Regions from separate parts of the Homo sapiens genome. Here regions 1, 2, 3 and 5 are each linked to region 4. Evidence: promoter capture Hi-C in 16 types of primary human blood cells and fetal thymus (Javierre and others, 2016). All regions are on one chromosome and are shown on one strand. Each heading gives the region's core, a stretch centred on a gene start or on the middle of the fragment in contact. The rest is flanking DNA. Distances are from core to core; before and after follow the strand shown. Region 1 holds the start of TENT5C-DT (TENT5C divergent transcript). Region 2 overlaps LINC02868 (long intergenic non-protein coding RNA 2868). Region 3 has its middle 9.6 kb from the start of CD2. Region 4 holds the start of TRIM45 (tripartite motif containing 45). Region 5 overlaps IGSF3 (immunoglobulin superfamily member 3).

The links. The method cuts DNA at HindIII sites, captures the fragments that hold promoters and counts their contacts. A CHiCAGO score of 5 or more calls a contact.
Region 1: the fragment with the promoter of TENT5C-DT here is called in contact with the fragment with the promoter of TRIM45 in region 4 in 6 of 17 cell types (total B cells, monocytes, naive B cells and 3 more); the score reaches 7.8 in total B cells.
Region 2: a contact is called between a fragment that was not itself captured here and the fragment with the promoter of TRIM45 in region 4, in 1 of 17 cell types (naive CD4 T cells). The highest score is 5.1, in naive CD4 T cells.
Region 3: a fragment that was not itself captured here is called in contact with the fragment with the promoter of TRIM45 in region 4 in 3 of 17 cell types (naive CD4 T cells, total B cells and fetal thymus); the score reaches 7.1 in naive CD4 T cells.
Region 5: a contact is called between a fragment that was not itself captured here and the fragment with the promoter of TRIM45 in region 4, in 2 of 17 cell types (fetal thymus and non-activated CD4 T cells). The highest score is 8.7, in fetal thymus.

The regions. Positions count from the first base shown.
Region 1 is chr1:117,604,347-117,608,068 of GRCh38, forward strand. TENT5C-DT (TENT5C divergent transcript) reads right to left here and starts at 1,424. Exons shown (of 3, transcript NR_121626.1): 1 at 1,300-1,424; 2 at 443-590. It overlaps TENT5C (terminal nucleotidyltransferase 5C), which reads left to right and starts at 1,702. Exons shown (of 2, transcript NM_017709.4): 1 at 1,702-1,807. RefSeq lists enhancers at 516-1,016, 1,017-1,517 and a silencer at 1,428-1,767. The HindIII fragment of the contact is 6,964 bases long and covers 1-3,086 here.
Region 2 is chr1:116,696,819-116,700,582 of GRCh38, forward strand. The region is part of intron 2 of LINC02868 (long intergenic non-protein coding RNA 2868); the gene reads left to right. Among named protein-coding and RNA genes, the nearest start is that of LINC02868, 4.6 kb to the left of the region's middle. The HindIII fragment of the contact is 467 bases long and covers 1,695-2,161 here.
Region 3 is chr1:116,742,632-116,746,931 of GRCh38, forward strand. It overlaps the pseudogene NEFHP1. Among named protein-coding and RNA genes, the nearest start is that of CD2, 9.6 kb to the right of the region's middle. The HindIII fragment of the contact is 1,575 bases long and covers 792-2,366 here.
Region 4 is chr1:117,119,447-117,123,169 of GRCh38, forward strand. It overlaps TRIM45 (tripartite motif containing 45), which reads right to left and starts at 2,303. Exons shown (of 6, transcript NM_025188.4): 1 at 1,268-2,303. The coding sequence starts at 1,755. RefSeq lists a silencer at 2,068-2,257 and an enhancer at 2,568-2,737. The HindIII fragment of the contact is 3,223 bases long and covers 326-3,548 here.
Region 5 is chr1:116,660,830-116,664,614 of GRCh38, forward strand. All of the region lies in intron 2 of IGSF3 (immunoglobulin superfamily member 3), which reads right to left. Among named protein-coding and RNA genes, the nearest start is that of IGSF3, 5.0 kb to the right of the region's middle. The HindIII fragment of the contact is 806 bases long and covers 1,566-2,371 here.

The sequences.
Region 1 (3,722 bases), core at 174-2,673, 480 kb after region 4:
AAAAGAATGGACCATTGTTACACACAACAATATGGATGAATCTCATAGACGCACTGTTGGGCAAGAGAAGCCAGACATAAAATTGTACGTGTTATGTATTTCATCCATAGCAAGTTCAAATATTGGTAAAACTAATCTATGGTGATAGAGGTTAAAATAGTGGTAATCCTTGTCGGATACTGAATGGGAAGGGGCATGAATGAGCTGGAAAGGTTCCACATCTTGATATGGATGGCAGTTACATGGGTATGCATATGTAAAAAATTATCATTCTGGACACTTTTGATTTGTGCGCTTTACTGAATGTTATACCTCAAAAACAAAAAGTAAAACAAAAAATCAGATCATATGTCTTGATTTCGCGTCTAACAATAGGATCACTGGCTTTCCCTATAAACACTCATATTGATGTCCTATCGCATTAAAGTTCCTGGATACTCACTCTCCTCTCCCTCGCTGGGAAAGACATATTTGAGAACTCTTCATAGTCTGACAGACAGGAGAACCACACTTATTTCAGGCAGGGTTGGAAGAGTAGGGCGGAGGAGATGTAAATACTGCATCTGGGAAGTAATCTTTTCCCCCAGCACCTAGTAAACGATCAATACAAGTACAATAATGTCTATTGATAAATAACATTGTCCAACATTGGCTACTATCTGATACATACAGCATTTGCCACACACTTTCTAACAGGCACTAGGCAATGCACTAATTGTTTCCCACGTATTTTCTTAATACTTATATAATTCTACAGAGCTGTCCCATTGTTAGTCTTGTCCTACAGATAGGAGACGCAGGTTGTTGGAGGGTTGGTTCAGTTACTTGCCTAAGGCCTTACAGAAAGTTTAAGTGGTGCATGGAGATCTCAACTCAGATTAGTCTGAATTCAGAACCTGGGCTGTAAACCACTCGCTATGTTATGAATGGATGGTGTCCAAGCCCTGCCTGCATGTTATATAACACACTGGACCAAGTGCTGTGGCATTCCGAATGGGGCCGAAGCGGCTGCGGCTGCCGACATTGGCGATGGACTCCCCGAGGCCCTTCGTCCCACTAACTGCACACAGGTGGTCCCCGGGGCCAGAGAGCCGCCGGCGCTCTCTCCCCGAAGACCACGCCTTCGCCTCCAGCCAGTTTGCTTGGGGAATCAGAAAGGTGCCCAGGGCCCAGAAACCATTAAGTTTTTTCCGACTTCAAAAACACACACCGGAGGTAGGCGTGGGCGTTACCCGCCTCACTCCTGGGGGCAGGGAGAACCAACGCGAAAATCCCCAGAGAGGCGGAAGAAAAACCTGCCTGCGAGAGAATAGGATGGAGATGGGAAAAGCCTGGGGAAGAGAGAGTTATGCGGCAGGAATAGCAGAAAAGCGTACTAAGCAAAAAGAAAGGTGTCCCACTAACTCCGAAGTTAAGTGGGTGTCGACGCAGCCCCCTCTATTGCGCTTGCGCAGTGCTGCCTCCCTGAGCACCCCGCCCCTTCCCGCCGCTGAGGATTTACTCGTCTCTTGGCAACCATTCACCCGAAGAGCCAATCAGAGGGCAGCCCTCGCCCCGCCCCTGCCGTCAGGGCCGGGCGGAAGGGTCCCGAGGGGACTGGCTCCGCCACGCCCCGCCCCTGGCTCCCCCGGGAGGGCGGCTCAGGGGCGGGGACGGGGGCGTGGTCCCGCCGTATAAGAACGGAGGGGGCGGCGGCGGGACGGCTCACTCGGTGCCGCTGCCTAGGGGCTGTAGAGGTCGCGCCGCTCCTGCTGGGGCCTGCCCACGCCAAGGACCTGCCTCTGTCGCCTCCTCTTCTATTGCCCAGGTGAGTCCGCGACCCCCCTCCTCTAAAGGTGCGGCGATGCGGCAGCAGCCCCAGGGAGCCGCGAGCTCACTTAGTGGGGGTCCGCCCCCACTAAGTGGTGCTCAGGTCTTTGCCCAGCCTGGTAGGGGGCAGGCGGACCCGAGGGGAGCTGCGGACAGGTGCCGAGACCCGGTGCTCCTTTCCCCTCCTGCTCCCTCGAGGACCCCCGCCCCTGACACACCCGTCCCAAAGGGCCAGAAGAGACGCTCCGAAAGGGAGCTACAACTTTCCAGAGACCTGGGGCTTGGCAAACTCCAGCGAGTTCCTGCTCCGCGCGTCCTGCAGGCTGCGCGCTGGCCAGGCGCGGGCAGGGCGTCTGAAGAGTGTGTGATCGGCGCCTCCGCTCCTACCTGGATCAGACGGCGCCCCCCGCCACCCATGCCTCCCTTCCTGGCTTGCAGTCCCTCGGGCTCGCCCCGGCGCTCCCGCGGGCGCGCACACCTTCGCCGGCCCGCCGAGTGTGAATTCGAATTCGGCGGTTTCACTAGGCGCAGCTGGAGACGCAGCGGTCCGGGGCTTGGATCTGGTTGGGGAGGGGAGGGGCGCTTCCTAGGCTCATTGCCAAGTCCTGAGTTTTAAGGAGAAGGGCGGAGATCCTTAAATTTAATGCGCTCACATCAGACTGTGGACACCATGAGCAGCAAAGGGATCCAAGCCAGTGACTTGTGCGCTGCGCGTCTCTCAGAAACTTCTTGGGAATGCGGTGTCTGTGAAACCTGCTTCCTCTCCTTTTGAAAATGAAACTTGCTTTACTGCGTAGGTGAAAAGCCACGGCAAGTGGGTCGACTCGGACGGATACCGGTGCGGCTGCCCCGGGAGGTGTCGCAGTTCGGGGACTCCCTTCGCACTGGTCGCGAGGCAGGAGGGAGCAGGGTGGGAGGCGAGTCAGAGGAGGGTGACTTACCTGAAGAATACAGGTTGGTAGCCTGCACACCTGAACTCAACGCTGGCGGGCGAGAAAACCAAGCAGCGCTACCTCCAAGTAAGGGCGCTCCCCTGGAGAAATGAATGCCTGGCGAGCTTCTGGAGAACCCACTATTAGGGCTGGACCCTGCGGGAGGGATAGTGTCAGCTCCCTTCCCCTTCGCCCTTTTTTGTCCATAGGTAGGCTTTTGTAGGGCTCTAACCAGTTCCCTGGCTTAATTAAGTAGGGGCCTGCTTCCTTTTTAACATTTTTGCTTTCTTACGGAGATATAAAGTGCATACAAATGAAGTGCTTAAAATGCACTTATAGTAAGAAAGCTTTTATAAATACTATGTGCATAATTATTTGTATTGTGACAACTTGGTCTTCAGGTTACTTTGTAGGTGGGTTAGGAGACTGAACCAGCCCAGGAAATAAAGTTAGGGTGATTAGATCCTCCCAAAGTACACTTCTGGCTGGCTCAGCTGCCCTCTGCGTGCAGGAAAGAGGGTGACCGTTGTTGGCGACAGCAACCTTTCAACGTGAGTAAATTGGCAAGGAAATGAGCCCAGGAAGTAAGTTGGGCAGCCGCAAGAGTGGTAGGAGAGCTTACCCAGAATTTTACTGTCTTAAATCCCCAAGGGTATTATTGAGGGTGTGAGACCAGCCACGTTAGGCCCTGCAGTGGAAAAGGGGGAGGGGGATGGGGAGTAAAGAATGCTGACTTTTCTCTGGGCTTTTAGGGAAACCTCTGAGCTGGGCTGCAGGGGTTCTGTCCTTTGACATTCTTGTTTGTGAAGATGGAAAATGATCTCTGGAGTCAAGCTTAGTTTATTTCAGATAATGAACTTTTTCTCTTAAGGTATACCCATAGCTTTAGAGTACATATATTCTCAATAAAGAGTTTTTAGGAAGATTTTGGTATATTGTATATAATTGTTCAGGTAGCTATGCGGGGGTAGGGGGCTCCCA
Region 2 (3,764 bases), core at 678-3,177, 420 kb before region 4:
GTGAGGCAGGGCAGAGCTCCTGTCCCTGCATGAGCACACTTGGGGCTTCTGGAGTGGTTGAGACACTTATACTCCCTGCTTCCTGCTTCCTGGAGCAGAATTTAAGGAAGACTACTGGGCTTTTGCCTCAGGAGACCAGACGAAACAAAACCTGCTTTCAGAGGGGCATTCTTCTGACTTTTCCTTCAAGTGGAATTGTGACTGTAGGTTTGGGTTTGAACACCGAATTTCAATTTTGTACACACACACCAAGAGGCCTCAGGGCAAGGGGGTGTTTGAAATGAACACCAGCCCAAGTCCTCTACCTGCCGAGTGTTCGATTAAGCTGCTTAGGTCTGTTTCCACCATCCTGTCTTTCAAATATTTATGTGTCAGATTATAGGCAAGCTTCAAAGGCAAGGAAATGCAAATCTGTTCTATAAATCATGGAATAACACAGCTGCTGTCTTCCTCAGTGTGACAGCTTACGAATGCCAGCATTTCTGTCTGCAGAAGGGGTGGTGGAAGTGGGCTTCTCGAGCGCAGCCAGGCCTGTGTGCGTGCCAGTGTGTGTGTGTGTGTGTGTGTGTGTGTGTGTGTGTGTGTGTGTTGGGGGTAGGGAAGAGAGTAGGGCGTTCTAATAATATTTGCATTTTTGCAAAACAGCAGTTTTTTTGTTTTTTAAATTTCCCAGCAGTTAAGGAGTTAATTTAATTTGCTAATCTTAAAGAACTGTGGAGGGATAAAACCTCACTTGGGATCTGAGGCATCCAGAAAACAAGAGATGAAAATGGCTTTCAGTTTTGGGGAAATATACCTAGAACATAAAGTAAGGGGAGAGAAGTCAACAGCAATAACTTTGGGGATTCCAAAATGAATTTAATTTAGTGTAAATGAATAAAAAGGAAATTGTGCATTGCAAATACTTATGCAAATTAAGTTTTGCCCCCAGGGTCTTAACAATCTGCCAGTGAAGCCCCCAGTGTGCCAAAGATTAGACTTTTGTGGGCTCTTTTCGGCTGTTGCCATGAATACATCGATTTGGTACATTGGTGTTCAGTGACACATTAACATCCACCAAGACCGACAGTGGGGTTTATGGTCCTTGCCCAGCAGCTGGTTTTGGCCTGGTGTCATTCTGAGGAAAAACCTGGGAAAGCTGCAGTCAACAGGGTGCAGGGGCCCAAAGGAAGATGGTGTATAAGACAAAATGAGTGGGGATAAAGTTTGCCATGTATTAGTCAGGATTCTGTTGCAAGTGACTCAAACTCACTTAGGCAACAGGGGGAGTTTTCTGGGTCACTGAAGGGAACATTGAATAACCAAATCATGGGAAAGGAACGAAAGTAATTGGGCTTGGGAACAGTTGGAACAAAAACTGGAACACTTCTAGGACTGTCTTCCATCACCTGTCTTTACTTTTTCTCTCTATTGGCTCCTAACATGGCTGCATATTAGGACTAGTAGATTTTGTGCCAAACGACTTTTCCTATTATAAAGACTGTTTTGCACCTGACAACTTTTGTCTCTGTAGAATCCTAGTTTGAATAATCCCAGAGAAGAAATTTATGATTGGTTGAGCTGGGATCAGGTGTCCATGCCTGGACCAATCAACTGTAGGAAGAGGACAGAGAGTCACATAAAAACATGGCAGCTCTTATGGTAGTCATATTGATGATGGGAGGCTTTCCTAAAAAAAAAAAAAGGAGTGGGGAAGCTTTGGACAGACAGTCCAGTAAGCATCTACTACATTCTAGAGAGCGCTGGAAAAAAGACCAAAGGAGGCAAAGAAAGGGGGCCAGGAAAGATTGTGTGATGAATGAGTTGCATGTTGGAATTCATTGATTGACTCCTTGAAATTCAATATTCCATAGGATTCCTTAATGATGCTAAATGCTCCTGGTTCTTCTAGTTTTCTGATAGCTCTTATTCTGTCTCCTTGATTGTTCTGGATCCTTCTCTTCTCTGCACTGAGAATCTCCTCAAGATTACAGGCCCTTAGTTATGTATCTTGCCTCTAGAGAAGACAAATAGGTTCTTTCCAACTGCATAAACAGTATTCCCTGTCAGGACCCTCCTCTTACCTTCCAGAAGAAATCTACACTTGGATTTCCTTTAGTCACATTTAATGCCTTTCTAAAAAAGTGTGGTTCCTGAACCAGTCACATCAGAATCACCTGGAAGCTTATTGGAAATGCAGAATCTTGGGCCTTGTCACAAAACTACTGAATCAGAATCTGCATTCTAACAAGATGACCAGGTACTTTGTAAATCCATTAATTTGGAAAGCACCACTTTAAGCAATTAGAAATGGAACTCATAATCAACCTGCTCTCAGTGGCGAAATAAATGTTTTTTCACAATTTTCCTACCAGGTCAATGGCAACCCTGTCTAAAAACCCAGATTCACAACAACTCTCAAAATTACTTTTCCAATACTTTCTTGTCTTCATTACCTATGTCCAATCTATCACCAATTTGAACCTATTAATTCCACTGTCCAATTGGTCTGTTTTTCCTAACCATGCCTTCCTCACTTTCTGCAGGCTCTAATAGATGCATTTGCCAGTCAGCCTCCTCATTTAAAAAATGGGTCAAATAATGCTTATAATGCCTCATATACATATTTACATAGAATACAAATTTAATGTGTAATTATCTTCATCCTGGTAGGACTGGTTTTCCACTATGGCTTTGTATACAGTTGTAAGGGATATTGCAAATAACATATTATTAACCATAAAGTGCCAAAATCTATGAACAATTTTGATTTTAAATAAATTAGAAGGGATTAAATATTATTTCTAAAATTATTTTCCCTCATCTGCACTTTAATATGCTATAATGAGTAACAGAGAAAGTGGTGGAATAATACCAGGTAGGCCAGGAATTATAGATAGGAGTGTCTTACACATGAGCATCATGTATCACAGAGGTCAGCAAACTCTTTCTGTGAAAGGCCAGATAGGATTTTAGGCCTTCTGGGCCATATGGTTCCTGTTACAACTACTCAACTCTACCATCATAATGAGGAAGCAGCCAGAGGCAATACTTCTTGATTACTGTAGCTTTAAAGTAAGTCTTGAAATCAAATTAAGTCCTTCAGTTTTGAACTTCTTTTTCAAAATTGTTTTGGCTAACATAGGCTATTTTAATTTCTTACAAATTTTAGGTTCAGTATTACAATTGCTTAAAGAAAAAATGCCTGCTGGGATTTTGATTGGGGTTGCATATAATCTATATATCAATGTGATGAGAATGGACAGCATAACAATATTGAGTTTTCCAATTCACAAACAGTTATGTGTCTCCATTTTTTAAATGTCTTTAATTTCTTTCAGTAGTTTTTTTGTAGTTTTTAGCATAGGTCCTATACATGCTTAGTTAAATTAATTCCAAAATATTATCTATTTCTGATGCTATTGTAAATGATGTTTTACATTTTAATGTCTCACTTATTTGTTGCTTGTATACAGAAATACAATTTATTTTTTATGTTGACTTTGTATTCTACAACCTTACTAAATTCACTTATTAATGTAGTAGCCATTCAGGGTAGACTTGTATTTTCTAGATAGAAAATTATGTACATGGCTGGGCATGGTGGCTCATGCTTGTAATCTTAGCTCTTTGGTAGGCTGAGGTGGGAGGACTGCTTGAGGCCATGAGTTTGAGACCAACCTGGGCAACACAGCAAGACCTCATCTCTATTAACTAAAAGAAGAAAAGAAAAAAGAAAAGAAAAGAAAATTGTGTACTATGTGAATAAAAAAAGTTTAACTTCT
Region 3 (4,300 bases), core at 329-2,828, 380 kb before region 4:
CAGGACGGGATGGGAGGCACTCAAATGTCAGTTTTTGGTAAAAATGCAGCTGGGCATGGTGGCTCATGCCTGTAATCCCAGCACTTTGGAAGGCTGAGGCTGGTGGATCATGAGGTCAGTAGTTCAAGACCAGCCTGGCCAATATGGTGAAACCCCCATCTCCACTAAAAATACAAAAATTAGCTGGGTGTGGTGGTGTGCACCTGTAGTCCCAGCCACTCAGGAGGCTGAGGCAGGAGAATCGCTTGAACCCAGGAGAGGGAGGTTGCAGTGAGCTGAGATTGTGCCACTGAACTCCAGCCTGTGCAACAGAGCAAGACTCCATCTCAAAAAAAAAAAAAATGCTAGACACTTTACTCCTTTTTTGTGTTTCTACCCTGAGTCTGTGGGAAGGTGTAATGAGGGTGCAAGTGGAGGCACCAAAGAGAGGAGATGGAAGTTAGGCAGGAAGGTGAGGTGGGACGCAGGGATTACTGCAACTAAGGACAAGTGAGGTGTGCAAGGCAAAAAGTGACAGTGAGGTCTCAGGAAGAAGCAAGCAGTGTCTCCGAGTTTGGAGCACAGGTCCAAAGGGCTAGGGATTAGGTGATGAAAGTGTGGAGGAAGGGGACAGGCACAACCCAGAACCTCTCAGGGCTTAGAGTCCTCCACTGAAATGTGAGGGGATGTAATCCTATTTGGAATTTCTTTCTCTTCCAAAATCTCACAGTTCAAAAAATTCAGGTAAGTGTGAAATACAGAAATGGCAATTTTGACCATAGTCCTGCCAGAAATAACAAGTTCCTCTTCAAAGCTTCCATGGTCTTTCTTAATCAGTAATGAGCACTTGTTTCTCTGCTTAATCTGTAAAGAGCAAATGTCTTATTCTGTAAACAACCCTTCCCACCTAGTTGGTAATGGACAGCCTCTCCCTTCCTGCCTAACTGACCTTATTCAATTTCAAACACTAGCCAATCAGGTCAGCTTAGACTGTGCCCAACTCCAGCCAATGGGGAAAGGACACAGAAACAGGAACTGTTTTAGGGATAAAAATCCCTGCCCTAGCTGACTTGGTGTGCTCTTGTGATTGGAGGGATGCAGGCAGCACCCTTCTGCAAAGTAAATGTGCCTTGCTGAGAAATTTTCTATCTAAGTGCTGGTTTTTCCTTGTGGCACTGAGCACTTGCTTCTAACAACTTGGGGGCTCATCTAGGATCCCATTCTCCTCAGGGGAAGGGTCTCCGATCATCTCTTGTGAGGAGACGCATCCCACTGCCTCATTGCAGCTGCCTCAGGAGTGAGGGATCGAGACCCACCTGGCGTGACGAATAAACCCAGACTCTCAGCAACATGGGAGGAAAAGGCCTACAGATACTGCAGTGACCAGGTAATTCTGTGCATAGACCAAGGTAAGAAAAGCTGCGGGGGTGGTGAAGTACTTCCTTGGTGGTTGGGATGTCCTGGAGGTTGAAAGTGTGTGAATAAGATGCACAATTAAGTGCAAAGCGAGTGTGGAGTCTGGATTTGCTGTTCTGTGGTCACGTCACATGGCTTAAGGTGGCTTTCCTGTCAGGGGTTTATACCGACCCATCAATGCTAAGAAGGACCTAAATTCCCAGGAGAGAAACAGCCAAAGAAGGACAAAGGGAAAGCAAAGGAGTTCAAGAAACTTCCAGTGGTTGGGGGGGAGGGGGTTGCTGAGCCTCCAGAGAAAGAGTGCAAGAAATCTCTAGTAAGAGAGAATGAGCCACACACAGTCAGGAAACTCAGGGAAATGCCTACAACTTCCAGGATGGGAAATACCCTAAGCAGGACAGGGAATATAAAGGACAAGACAGACAATAAAATTCCCTCTGATAGCCCTCTAGGTCTCATGTTAAAATATTGGAGGGATAATGAAAGGACCAAACATAAGAAGAAGCAGAAAATGATAAATATTGTTGATTTATTTGGACCAAATATTGTTGCTTTATTTGGACCAAAAAAACCTATTCTCAAATCTTCAGTTTTCTCACCAAGGTTTGGGTCAAATGAGGATTGGATTTGTCAACTTTTAATAGAATATGTCAATGATAAAAGTCCTGTCTCCCAAGAGGAAATAGACTATGCCCTGTGCTGGGGGCAGGGGCCTGTCCTCTTCTACCCTCTAAAAGCTACAGGAAATAAGCCAGAAACTACCTCCCCTAAAGAAATTGAGACCCCTACCCCAAACAGTCCATTAACACATGGGATCCTTTAGACCACCTTCCTCTGCTAAACACCACCAACTTTGCCTCCTCCTCAAGCAGATGTAACCACCCCAAACCCTTCCCCTGCTCACGTTGTTCCCTCCCCTTATAATCCTGACTCTTGGGGCCATTCCCAGTCTGAATGCCCTGTCCTAGGAAAGCTTCAATGTGAAATAGAACAATGTAAAAAGGATATTCGAAACTTCCCTTTCCCCTCCTCCTCAAAGGAGTCTGCCCCAACCCTTTTTCCCTTAAGAGAAGTACCACTTGGAGGAGGGGAATTGGCTCTGAAAATGCCCCCTTAACTAGTTCAGAGGTCAGAAACCTGAAGAGGGAACTTAAATCACCATTAGATGATCCTTTTGGGGTTGTGGATCAAATTGACCAATTTTTAGGACCACAAGTATATACTTGGGCTAATGTCCATCTTAAGTATTCTCTTTTTTGGGTGGTGGAGGGGAATAAACATGATCCACAGGGCTGCTATGATAGTCTGGGAGCATGCACATCCTCCCAGTCAAAATATCCCTGCAGTAGAACAAAAATTTCCAGCCCAAGACCCCCAATGGGATAATGATAATGCAACCCACCGAAAAAACATGGAAGACCTTAGGGAGATGATAGTTAAAGGGATTTGGGAATCAATGCCTCAAACCCCAAATATTTCACTAGCATTTAATATACAGCAGGGGAAAGATGAAGGGCCCATGGAGTTTTTAAACAGACTAAAGGAACAGATGAGAAAATATGCAGGCTTAGACATAGAGGATCCCCTTGGGCAGGTGATGTTAAAGCTCCATTTTGTCACTAATAGTTGGCCAGGTATCACAAAGAAATTACAAAAAAAATAGAGAACTGGAAAGATCGGCCTATAGAGGAACTTTTGAGGGAGGCCCAAAAAAACATATGTAAGAACGGATGAAGAAAAGCAAAAGCAAAAGGCAAAAATCAGCTCTCCACTCTACAACAAAGTACCCAAGGGGCCAAAACCTGTAAACAACTTAAGCCCCCACTCGCTAGGCATATAAAGGGTATGAAAAAGCAAAGCAAGGGAATTTAAAAATAAGGAGAGAAAGAGAGCAGAACAAATGTTTCAAATGTGGAAGAATAGGTCACTTCGAAATGGAATGTCCTGAATGGGAAAAAGAAAAGGAAGTCATCCCACCTATGGCCTTCGAGGAAGAATAGGGGGGTCAGGGGCTCTGTTTCTTTTATCTCGAGTTCCACCAAGAGCCATTGATAAATTTAGAGGTGGGACCCAAACCCGAGCTCATTGCCTTTTTAATCGACTCAGGGGCAGCTCACTCCTCTCTTTGTTATCCTCCATCTGGTGTACTTTGTTCACAAGAAGAACTCCTGATCTCAGGAGTGAAAGAAGAAGGATTTAAAGCAAAAATCTTAGAAGAAAAAAAAGTCATGGACCGTCACCCCAGGACCAACCCCCACCAGAGTAATGTTAAAGAAAAAAGCCTAATCTGACTGTCCCTTTTTCCTCTTCTCTTTCCCTTAGCTACCCCACATCTCATTATTAATGTAACCAGGTCAAAGTCACCCCAAATCATTACTTTTGATGCTTGTCTTGTTATACCTTGTGGAGACTTGCAAAGTCAAAGGCAGTTCTCTACTTCAGAAAAGTATCTTTGCCATTCTTGGAAATTATCAGATTGGGCAGATTCAATTAACTGGGCAGTTCCCTTAGACTTGGGATATTATAAAGAAAACTCTGTTAACTGGGAATCTTGTACTCCGAAAACAGAGTTTCTCTGCCGTAGCTTGTCCAAAATTCTATGGACTACCAAAAATCATGGTTGGACCTCCCCAACAACTCTCTGTGTGTCCAAAAACCATACATTCCTTTCACCAAATGAAGCCCCCACCAACTGCCAGCAAAACCAATGTAATCCAGTACAAATTTCCATTACTATCACAACTTCCCAAAATTCCTCCCCTTCATTAAGTCATTTCTATGGTATAGGAGCAGAGGTCGCAGGGGCAGACTCTATAGGATTTTTTGAAATGCGTTTCGTCACCCCCTCATCCCCTCCTCCCTCTCCTAAACCTTCTAATCAAACTACCAGTCTCTCCCTACCCAA
Region 4 (3,723 bases), core at 1,053-3,552:
AATACAAAAAATTAGCCAGGCGTGGTGGCATGTGCCTGTAATCCCAGCTACTGGGGAGGCTGAGGCAGGAGAATCGCTTGAACCTAGGAGGTGGAGGTTGCAGTGAGTGGAGATTGTGTTATTGCACTCCAGCCTGGGCGACTAGAGCCAGACTCCATCTCAGAAAAAAAAAAAAAGAGAAAAGAAAGTGTGAAACCAATGGTTAGTAGAATCAAAGCTCTCTTTCTAATTCCTTTCCTATAGTAGCCCTCTAGAGATGTAGGGAAATCCTTAGGAAAACATGGTGACTGTTCAGAGTTCCTCCATTAGCATTGTATCAATTTGAAGCTTATATGCCTATTCTGGCACCAGAAGAGTGGCTGCAGAGAAAATAGGGTTAGCTGGTTTGGCTGGCAGCAAGACAGTCGCAGGGACTATCACATAATTACAAGTTAAAAATAGAGTGAAGTCTACAAACTTGTTCTGTTAGTGTAGCCAGAAAACAAATGGAAGTAGAACCCGAAACCTATTTTAGGCTAATCCTAAAACTGTGGTCATTTTATATTCTGGTGTCCTAGGATGGGGTAAGGTAAGAGTACGAAGGGACAAAAGTGATCCATCTGACAAACTATTCACCAAATGCCATAAAACACATAGTCTGCACCCCAATTAACACCTACCAGCCCACCTCACCAAGCTCCAGAGTAACTCTAAGGTACACAAAGCAAAAGCTGAGGTCCGGCCAATCATCATCACCTATTCTAGGAGCACAGCATGGGTTACTGGAATGTAGTCAAAATGATCTGGATTTAATACTCAGTTCTGTTACACACTTACCAACTGTAGGACCTTGGCAAATCACATAATATTGCTGAGCTTGTTTCCCCAATTAATAAATGGGGGCGAAAACAGGGCCTGCTTTTCTGTAAGAGTTGCAAGATCGAAGGAGATCAAGAACAGGATCTATGCTGTTATATTCATTCTCCTGTTTCTCCAGCACCCAGTACAATTATTCACTACACGAATGACTGAAGGAAACTGTAGCTGCACTTTGTAAATTGAAAGGGTTTATTGCTATTGCTATATTAGGCTATATATTAGGTACTATATTAGGCTAACCGGGTTAACTGTTGTACTGGAGTATTTGCTATTGCATTGTTATATTGCTCTTTGACCTTCCACGGTATTTGAGAAGGCTTTCCTTTTCATCTGCTCACCGAGGGATTTGTCTTGACACCTCTTTGTAATCTGCTCTTAAGCTACACCTGATGGAGTGTCCCATCTTTACCTATGAGCCTGGCAGCAGAAGTGGCAGAGGTTGGCTTTGCAGGTCTGACACCTCTTCTCTACTTCCCTGTCGTTGCACAGGTCACACACCAGGCCCTGGCCTTCCCCACGTAGGCTCTCCAGCATCACATCATTCACGGCCAGGTGGTCTATGGTTAAAGCCTTCACTCCACCCATGGGCAGGTCCACCTGAGCATCACATACAGGACAAAGGATGCCGATCTGCGACTGCAGACTTCGTGGCTTGAGTTCCTGGAATATTGACCCCTCAGAGCTTGTGTCAGAGTCTCCCCCTCGGATGTCCACTACTGAGAAGGGCTCCAGCTGCTCCAGACACGTGGTGCAAACTGTATGCAAACAAGGCAAGAGCCTGGGGGCTTTGAAAAGCCCCAAGCACAGGGGGCAGTGAGTCTTGCCTGAGTTCCCAAGTGCAGTCCCACTAGTGAGTTTGCTTACAAAGCCCAGCAGCGGTTTTCTGTTTTCTGACATACTCCTCACGTTTGTGACCAATATTAGAAAGGGCCCTGGGCAGTTCTACGATTTAGTAGCAGGTGATTAAGCCCACCCAAAGAGAAAGTCTCCAGAACTTGAACAGAGACCATGGGGACTCCCTCGCTGACAAATAAAAGGGCAGACGGGAAGACGAGGCGTCCTCGAAGGAATCACCCACAGATCTACTCAGGAGGGCCCCCTCCTTTCCACTGCATCCCACACCAGACACGCCCACGCCCTCCTCTGCCCCGCAAGTCCTCCCCGGATGCGCTTCCAGGTCTAGCTCTCCAGCTAGTCCTGCTGCCAACAAAGTCACCCCTGCACCTCTCGCTCCCTCCACTGCCACCCCCCTCCCGCCGCCCGCCCCACTGCGCGCCACACGCGACAAGCGCCGACCCCACCCGCGCACGATGAGGTAGGGGCCCTCTTGCTCCTTCCCTCTGCGAAAGGCGCGCGCCGGGTGAGGGAATTGCAAGCCGCCGGCGGGCTTCTCGGTGTCCACCGCCTCTCCCGCGCCTCGGCCCGGGACGCCCGCGGGCTCTGGCCCCTCCTCACACCAATCCCAGCCCGGTCTACTCCGGCGAGTCCAATCACCGTCCGAGAGCGGCGGCCCTCGCCGCTCCGGGCCCCGCCGCCCTCCAGAGTGACGCCACTAAGCATCCAATAAGTTTTGGAAATTCCACATCTTCGCCAGTCCACTCACGCGGGGGGCGGGACCTGACAAGGCCGTGGGCGGGGCGGCCGAAGGGCTTAGAGTGCGGCGGGAGGAAAAGGCCAAGGCTCGGAGCGAGCGGCATAGTGTAGTCAGCGTCACCGTTTCACAGGGACTGTCCCTCTCTCTGTGGTGACCAGAGAGGCCTCAGGACCTCTTAAAAAGCCACGCTGATTTGGCGCCGGGACGGCCTTCTTTCTGCCCTCGGACTCGTCCCACGAACGCAGACTGGGTTCTCCCATTGGTGGATGGCACTGTCAGTTGGCTCTGCGCTGGGAGTGGGAGACGTTTTTCGGGCTCCCGAGGTCTCGGCCGCTCGGGGGCGCCAGACGTTTCTCCTCCACGCGGGTTTGAGGCTGCGAGGCTCCCCTCTGTCCTCAGGCGCTTACTGTAGCTCACAGGTCCCTCAGGCCTAGCGTGCTGGGTACAAGCACTCCCGCGGCTCCCCGACTTTGGGTATTTTTCGGGGGTGAGGGCATCTCAGGCTCGCGTTACGGGGACCGGTTCGGGAGACCGTGGAGCCGAGGTGTCGAATGGAGGGCTTACTTCGGCCGGGCCAGGGAGCGCCACCCTCCTTGTCGGGCTCGGGAAGGCTTTGTTTTCCGGTCCGGGGGGAGTGCAGATGACCTAAGGAGTTGAATGTCACCCGGGATTCCACAGTCCTGTGTAACAGAAACGAGCTGAGCGAGTTGGACCCGCTGTTTTTATCAGTCAATCACGGAGGGCTCCTGCCTGGTCACAGTGAGACAATGGACGGTGGCAATGAGGGACAAGCCCTTTGTGGGCTTAAAACTAATTGGGAAGATGAACACGTCCGACCCCTTTAACTTTATAATTACACGGCCACCTTCTCTGGCCTTACCAGGCGTCTCCTGATTCTCCAAAATTCCAAAAATGGAAACAGCTGCTCCTTTCCCCTCCACCTGTTGTTATCTCCAGTTGCGTCAGCTTGTCTACTGGGCCCTCACTGCTTTCTTTGTTCATGACCTTCCCTACTTAATTTGTACCCAGTGGGCGACTGTTTCACTTGATTCCTTCATTATCTGTTTCATGCTATAGGCATAGTGTCTGGAGCCTAAGCTTTTAAAAGTATGGAATCTGAAAAAAAGTTAACCCCAAAATATGAAAAAAAAAAAAAAAACCATTATAAAATATAAAAATGAAATGTTTGGCCATTTCCAAAATATAACACGCCAATGAGTCAAATGCCACCTTTATATAAAATGTGCAAGTAATTTCCAAATGTTAAGCAT
Region 5 (3,785 bases), core at 719-3,218, 460 kb before region 4:
AAGCTCTATAATCAGACAAATGTGAATTCAAATTCAGATTCTGCCAAATTCCAGCTCTTTTCCTTTGAACATAATTGTTTTCAAGGGAAAAGTGTCATGAATTTCCTTATCTTGATCAAGGAAGCCAACACAGAAACAACACCTACCTTGTGAAACCATTCACTCATCAAAAAATTAACTGGGCCAGGTGTGGTAGCTCACGCCTGTAATTTCAGCATTTTGGGAGGCCAAGGCAGGCGGATCACGAGGTCAGGAGTTTGAGACCAGTGTGGCCAACATAGTGAAGGCCCATCTCTACTAAAAATACAAAAAAATTAGCCGGGTGTGGTGGTGTGTGCCTGTAATCCCAGCTACTCGGGAGGCTGAGGCAGGAGAATCGCGTGAACCCAGCAGGCGGAGGTTACGGTGAGCCAAGATCGTGCCACTGCACTCCAGCCTGAGCAACAGTGTGAGACTCCATCTCAAAAAAAATAAAATAACTGAACACCTGCTTACTTTGCATGGCACAAGGCTGAGTTCTGGGACTACAGTAATGAACATGACAGATGGTCTTCAAGAATTTTATACAGAAGGTCATGCTATGTAAAGTGTTTAGCACAGTGACTGGCACATAAGCACTCTATAAACACTTTAATACTCACTGATAAAACCACAAAATGTAGTGTTTAATTATATGCTGATTTAGGTTGCTTCCTATGAAACAAACGTTGGTTCATCTAACTCATGCCTTCCTAACAAGCCTTCTTAGAAGCCAGAGGCTCGGCTTCAGAGTCAAACGGAATAGCTTATTAGATGTAAGAACACAGGATTTGGAACCAAATGGTCCTGGCTTCAAAACCCTACTCTGCCACTTTTTAGCTTTGTGACTATGGCAGAGATGGGCAGCTGTCCCCCAAAATCTGTTCTCTCCTTTCCCTACAGTCATAGAATCCCAAGTTTTTCTCAGGACACATGGACCCTCAGGATAAGCATATTTTCCAGCCTTCTTTGCAGCTAAATATGGTCACATGACTAGGTTCTAGCCAATGAGAATGTTAGTGGAAGTGATGTATATAACTTCCAGGAAGTATCCTTACATTAAGAGGTCCTACCCTTCACTAGCCTTTTCTTCCTTCCTGATGGCTGCGGCTAGAAGAGTCATCTTGGACCATGAAGTCATCTTGGGAATAGAGAGCATGCACATGGAGCAAGACAGCAGGAGCTTGGAGCCCTAACACTGTCAGCAATCTATCTTAGGCAAGTGACTCTTTTTTTTTTTTTGAGACAGAGTTTTGCTCATTGCCCAGGCTGGAGTGCAACGGCGCGATCTCGGCTCACTGCAACCTCTGCCTCCTGGGTTCAAGCGATTCTCCTGCCTCAGCCTCCCGAGTAGCTGGGATTACAGGAATGTGCCACCATGCTCGGCTAATTTTTGTATTTTTAGTACAGACGGTGTTTCACCATGTTGGCCAGGCTGGTCTCAAACTCCTGACCTCAAGTGATCCACCCGCCTCAGCCTCCCAAAGTGCTGCGGTTACAAGCATGAGCCACCATGCCCAGCTTAGGCAAGTTACTTAACCTCCCTAAGCTTCAATCTCCCCATCTATAAAAATGTGATAATGCAAGGTATCTATCTTACAGGGTTGTTTTGAAGACTGATTGATATAGTTGGGTCACAGTAAGGGCTAGAGTTAGGAGAGCTGGTATTACTGCCATTATGGAAGTACCAGCAGTCTTGCTGCCATGAAAACCGTAGAAGATGGCAACATCTTAACACAGCCCTGGGTACCTGGAGGTAGCTCAATGATTCTCACAGCTGAAAGGCATCCTAGTAGGCCAAGTCCTCCTGACAAGAATTTCCTTCTCCTGCACCCTTGTCAAATGGTCCCCAGGAAAGGGAAGTGCACTACCTCTGGGACAACTATTAGGACAGTGGTGTTTGTTCATCCATAAATCACAATCCTCATCCCCTTCTTTCAGAACCCTTCTCCTGATTGCTCCAAACCATCTCACTTTTCTCTGCCTCCTCTTTCTCCTCTGCCTTTGATCACTCCAGCCCTGCCTCTGAGGTCACACCCATAGTACTTCAAAGTTTCTTTCAATCCCTTTCAGAAGCCTTTTCTAACTAACTGGGAAGTAAGAGATGGCTTCCTCAGCCTTACCGTATTCAAAGAAGAGACTTCCCAAACTCTACAAATGAACTTCTCTCCCTCTGGAGCAGAACACAAATGATCATTTGCCATCTACAGGTTCTCAGATGTCCCAATCTCCTACATTTTTCATTGCTAACACTTTTAAAGCTATTTAATCTTGTTTGCAACATCAGCACTGGTCTGGGAGGTATATAACTCTTCCTGGCTACACAAAATCAAAATGTGCTGTATGTGTCTAAAGCTTATATTCATCTTTCCTGAGAATTTCCTTCCTGTTCTTACAGACACAAATCCTATGCTCTCTTTCCCACATTGCTGTCATCTTCCCATGTCACTGTCACTCATGCAGGCTGCTCCCAGACAGAGGCACTTTTCCAGTCACCCTTCCCTTCCTACCACTGTACCAGCCTCTATTCTCTCTCTAATCTTCTGCCCCTCTGGCCACATCTATCCTCAAATAGAGACTTTACTACCCTCATGGTTCAACCAGAGCCAGGCTTAAATGGCTTTGTAATTGGAACCAAGGGTTGTGGTGGCAGAGCCATGCACTGCCACCACAACCCTTATTGGGTGAGGCACCTAGGGTTAGGACAGAAGGAAACAACACACAGAGGTCAAGGGGGTAGGTACAAAGACAAAGGGTAGGACAAAGACATAAGCAGGAATCAGTATCCCAACAGACAGAAAAGAGGAATCTGATTCCAATCCCAGACACTGGCAAAGGACAGGTGCAGAAAAGCACAGGTCTGTCATGTTGAGGGAGATGAAAGCGTCTCCGAGATTTACCCTGTATACCCCTCACATACTGTCCAGGGTTTTCTAACTAAAATTGCCATTTCTAGAGGCTGGTACCTGCATCGGTCTCACTTTCAGAGCACTTAGCCTTATCCAACTTTTTTAAACAAAATTTTATTCCAGGCATGTGACCTATATGGGCTTAAAACCTTGGGATTCTTCGCTGTTTTAAATTCATACTACACATTAATTCACATTATGCAGCAAGAATGCTGACACATGAACCAGACCACATCAGAAGACAAGCAGGAAATAAGACCCCAACATGGGTTTTGCTCCCTCCCCAAACGCCTTCTACCTCTCCCAGATTAGTAAAGTAGTAGCCAGGCCTCCTTCCTGCCATACTGAGAGCCATCAGGTGAAGAGAAAGATGAGGTTCCACCAGTGGGGCTCCAAATCAGGCAGAGATCCACATGCATGCCTACAGTTCCAAACCTTCCCACTTCAGCCTGCATCTGGATGTCTGCCACTGTGCCCCTTTAAAGCCACCTTGATGCTCATTTTCCTCCATGGCACCTGTTTACACATGAAGATGAGGGTGGAGGGAAAATGACAGCACCTGCCAGGTGCCAGGGCCCGAGCTCCACTCCACAGAGTGGCCCAGAGAGCGAACAGCAGGGGGACCAGCATGCAGCCTTACATTACTTGAGCAGCCAGAAGAAACAAAAGGCACAAATGTCACATTGCCTTGTTTTCCCATTGATGGTTACTTCTCCTGCCCTGGGCCCCACCCTGCCACTCAGCCCTCTTTCCCGCCTTAGCCACACACCCCACCCCACATCCAAACCTCCCCAAGGGCTTTCCTTGTTTGTGTCCTGTTGAATCCACATGAATCACTAATTGCTGATTTAAACCCAG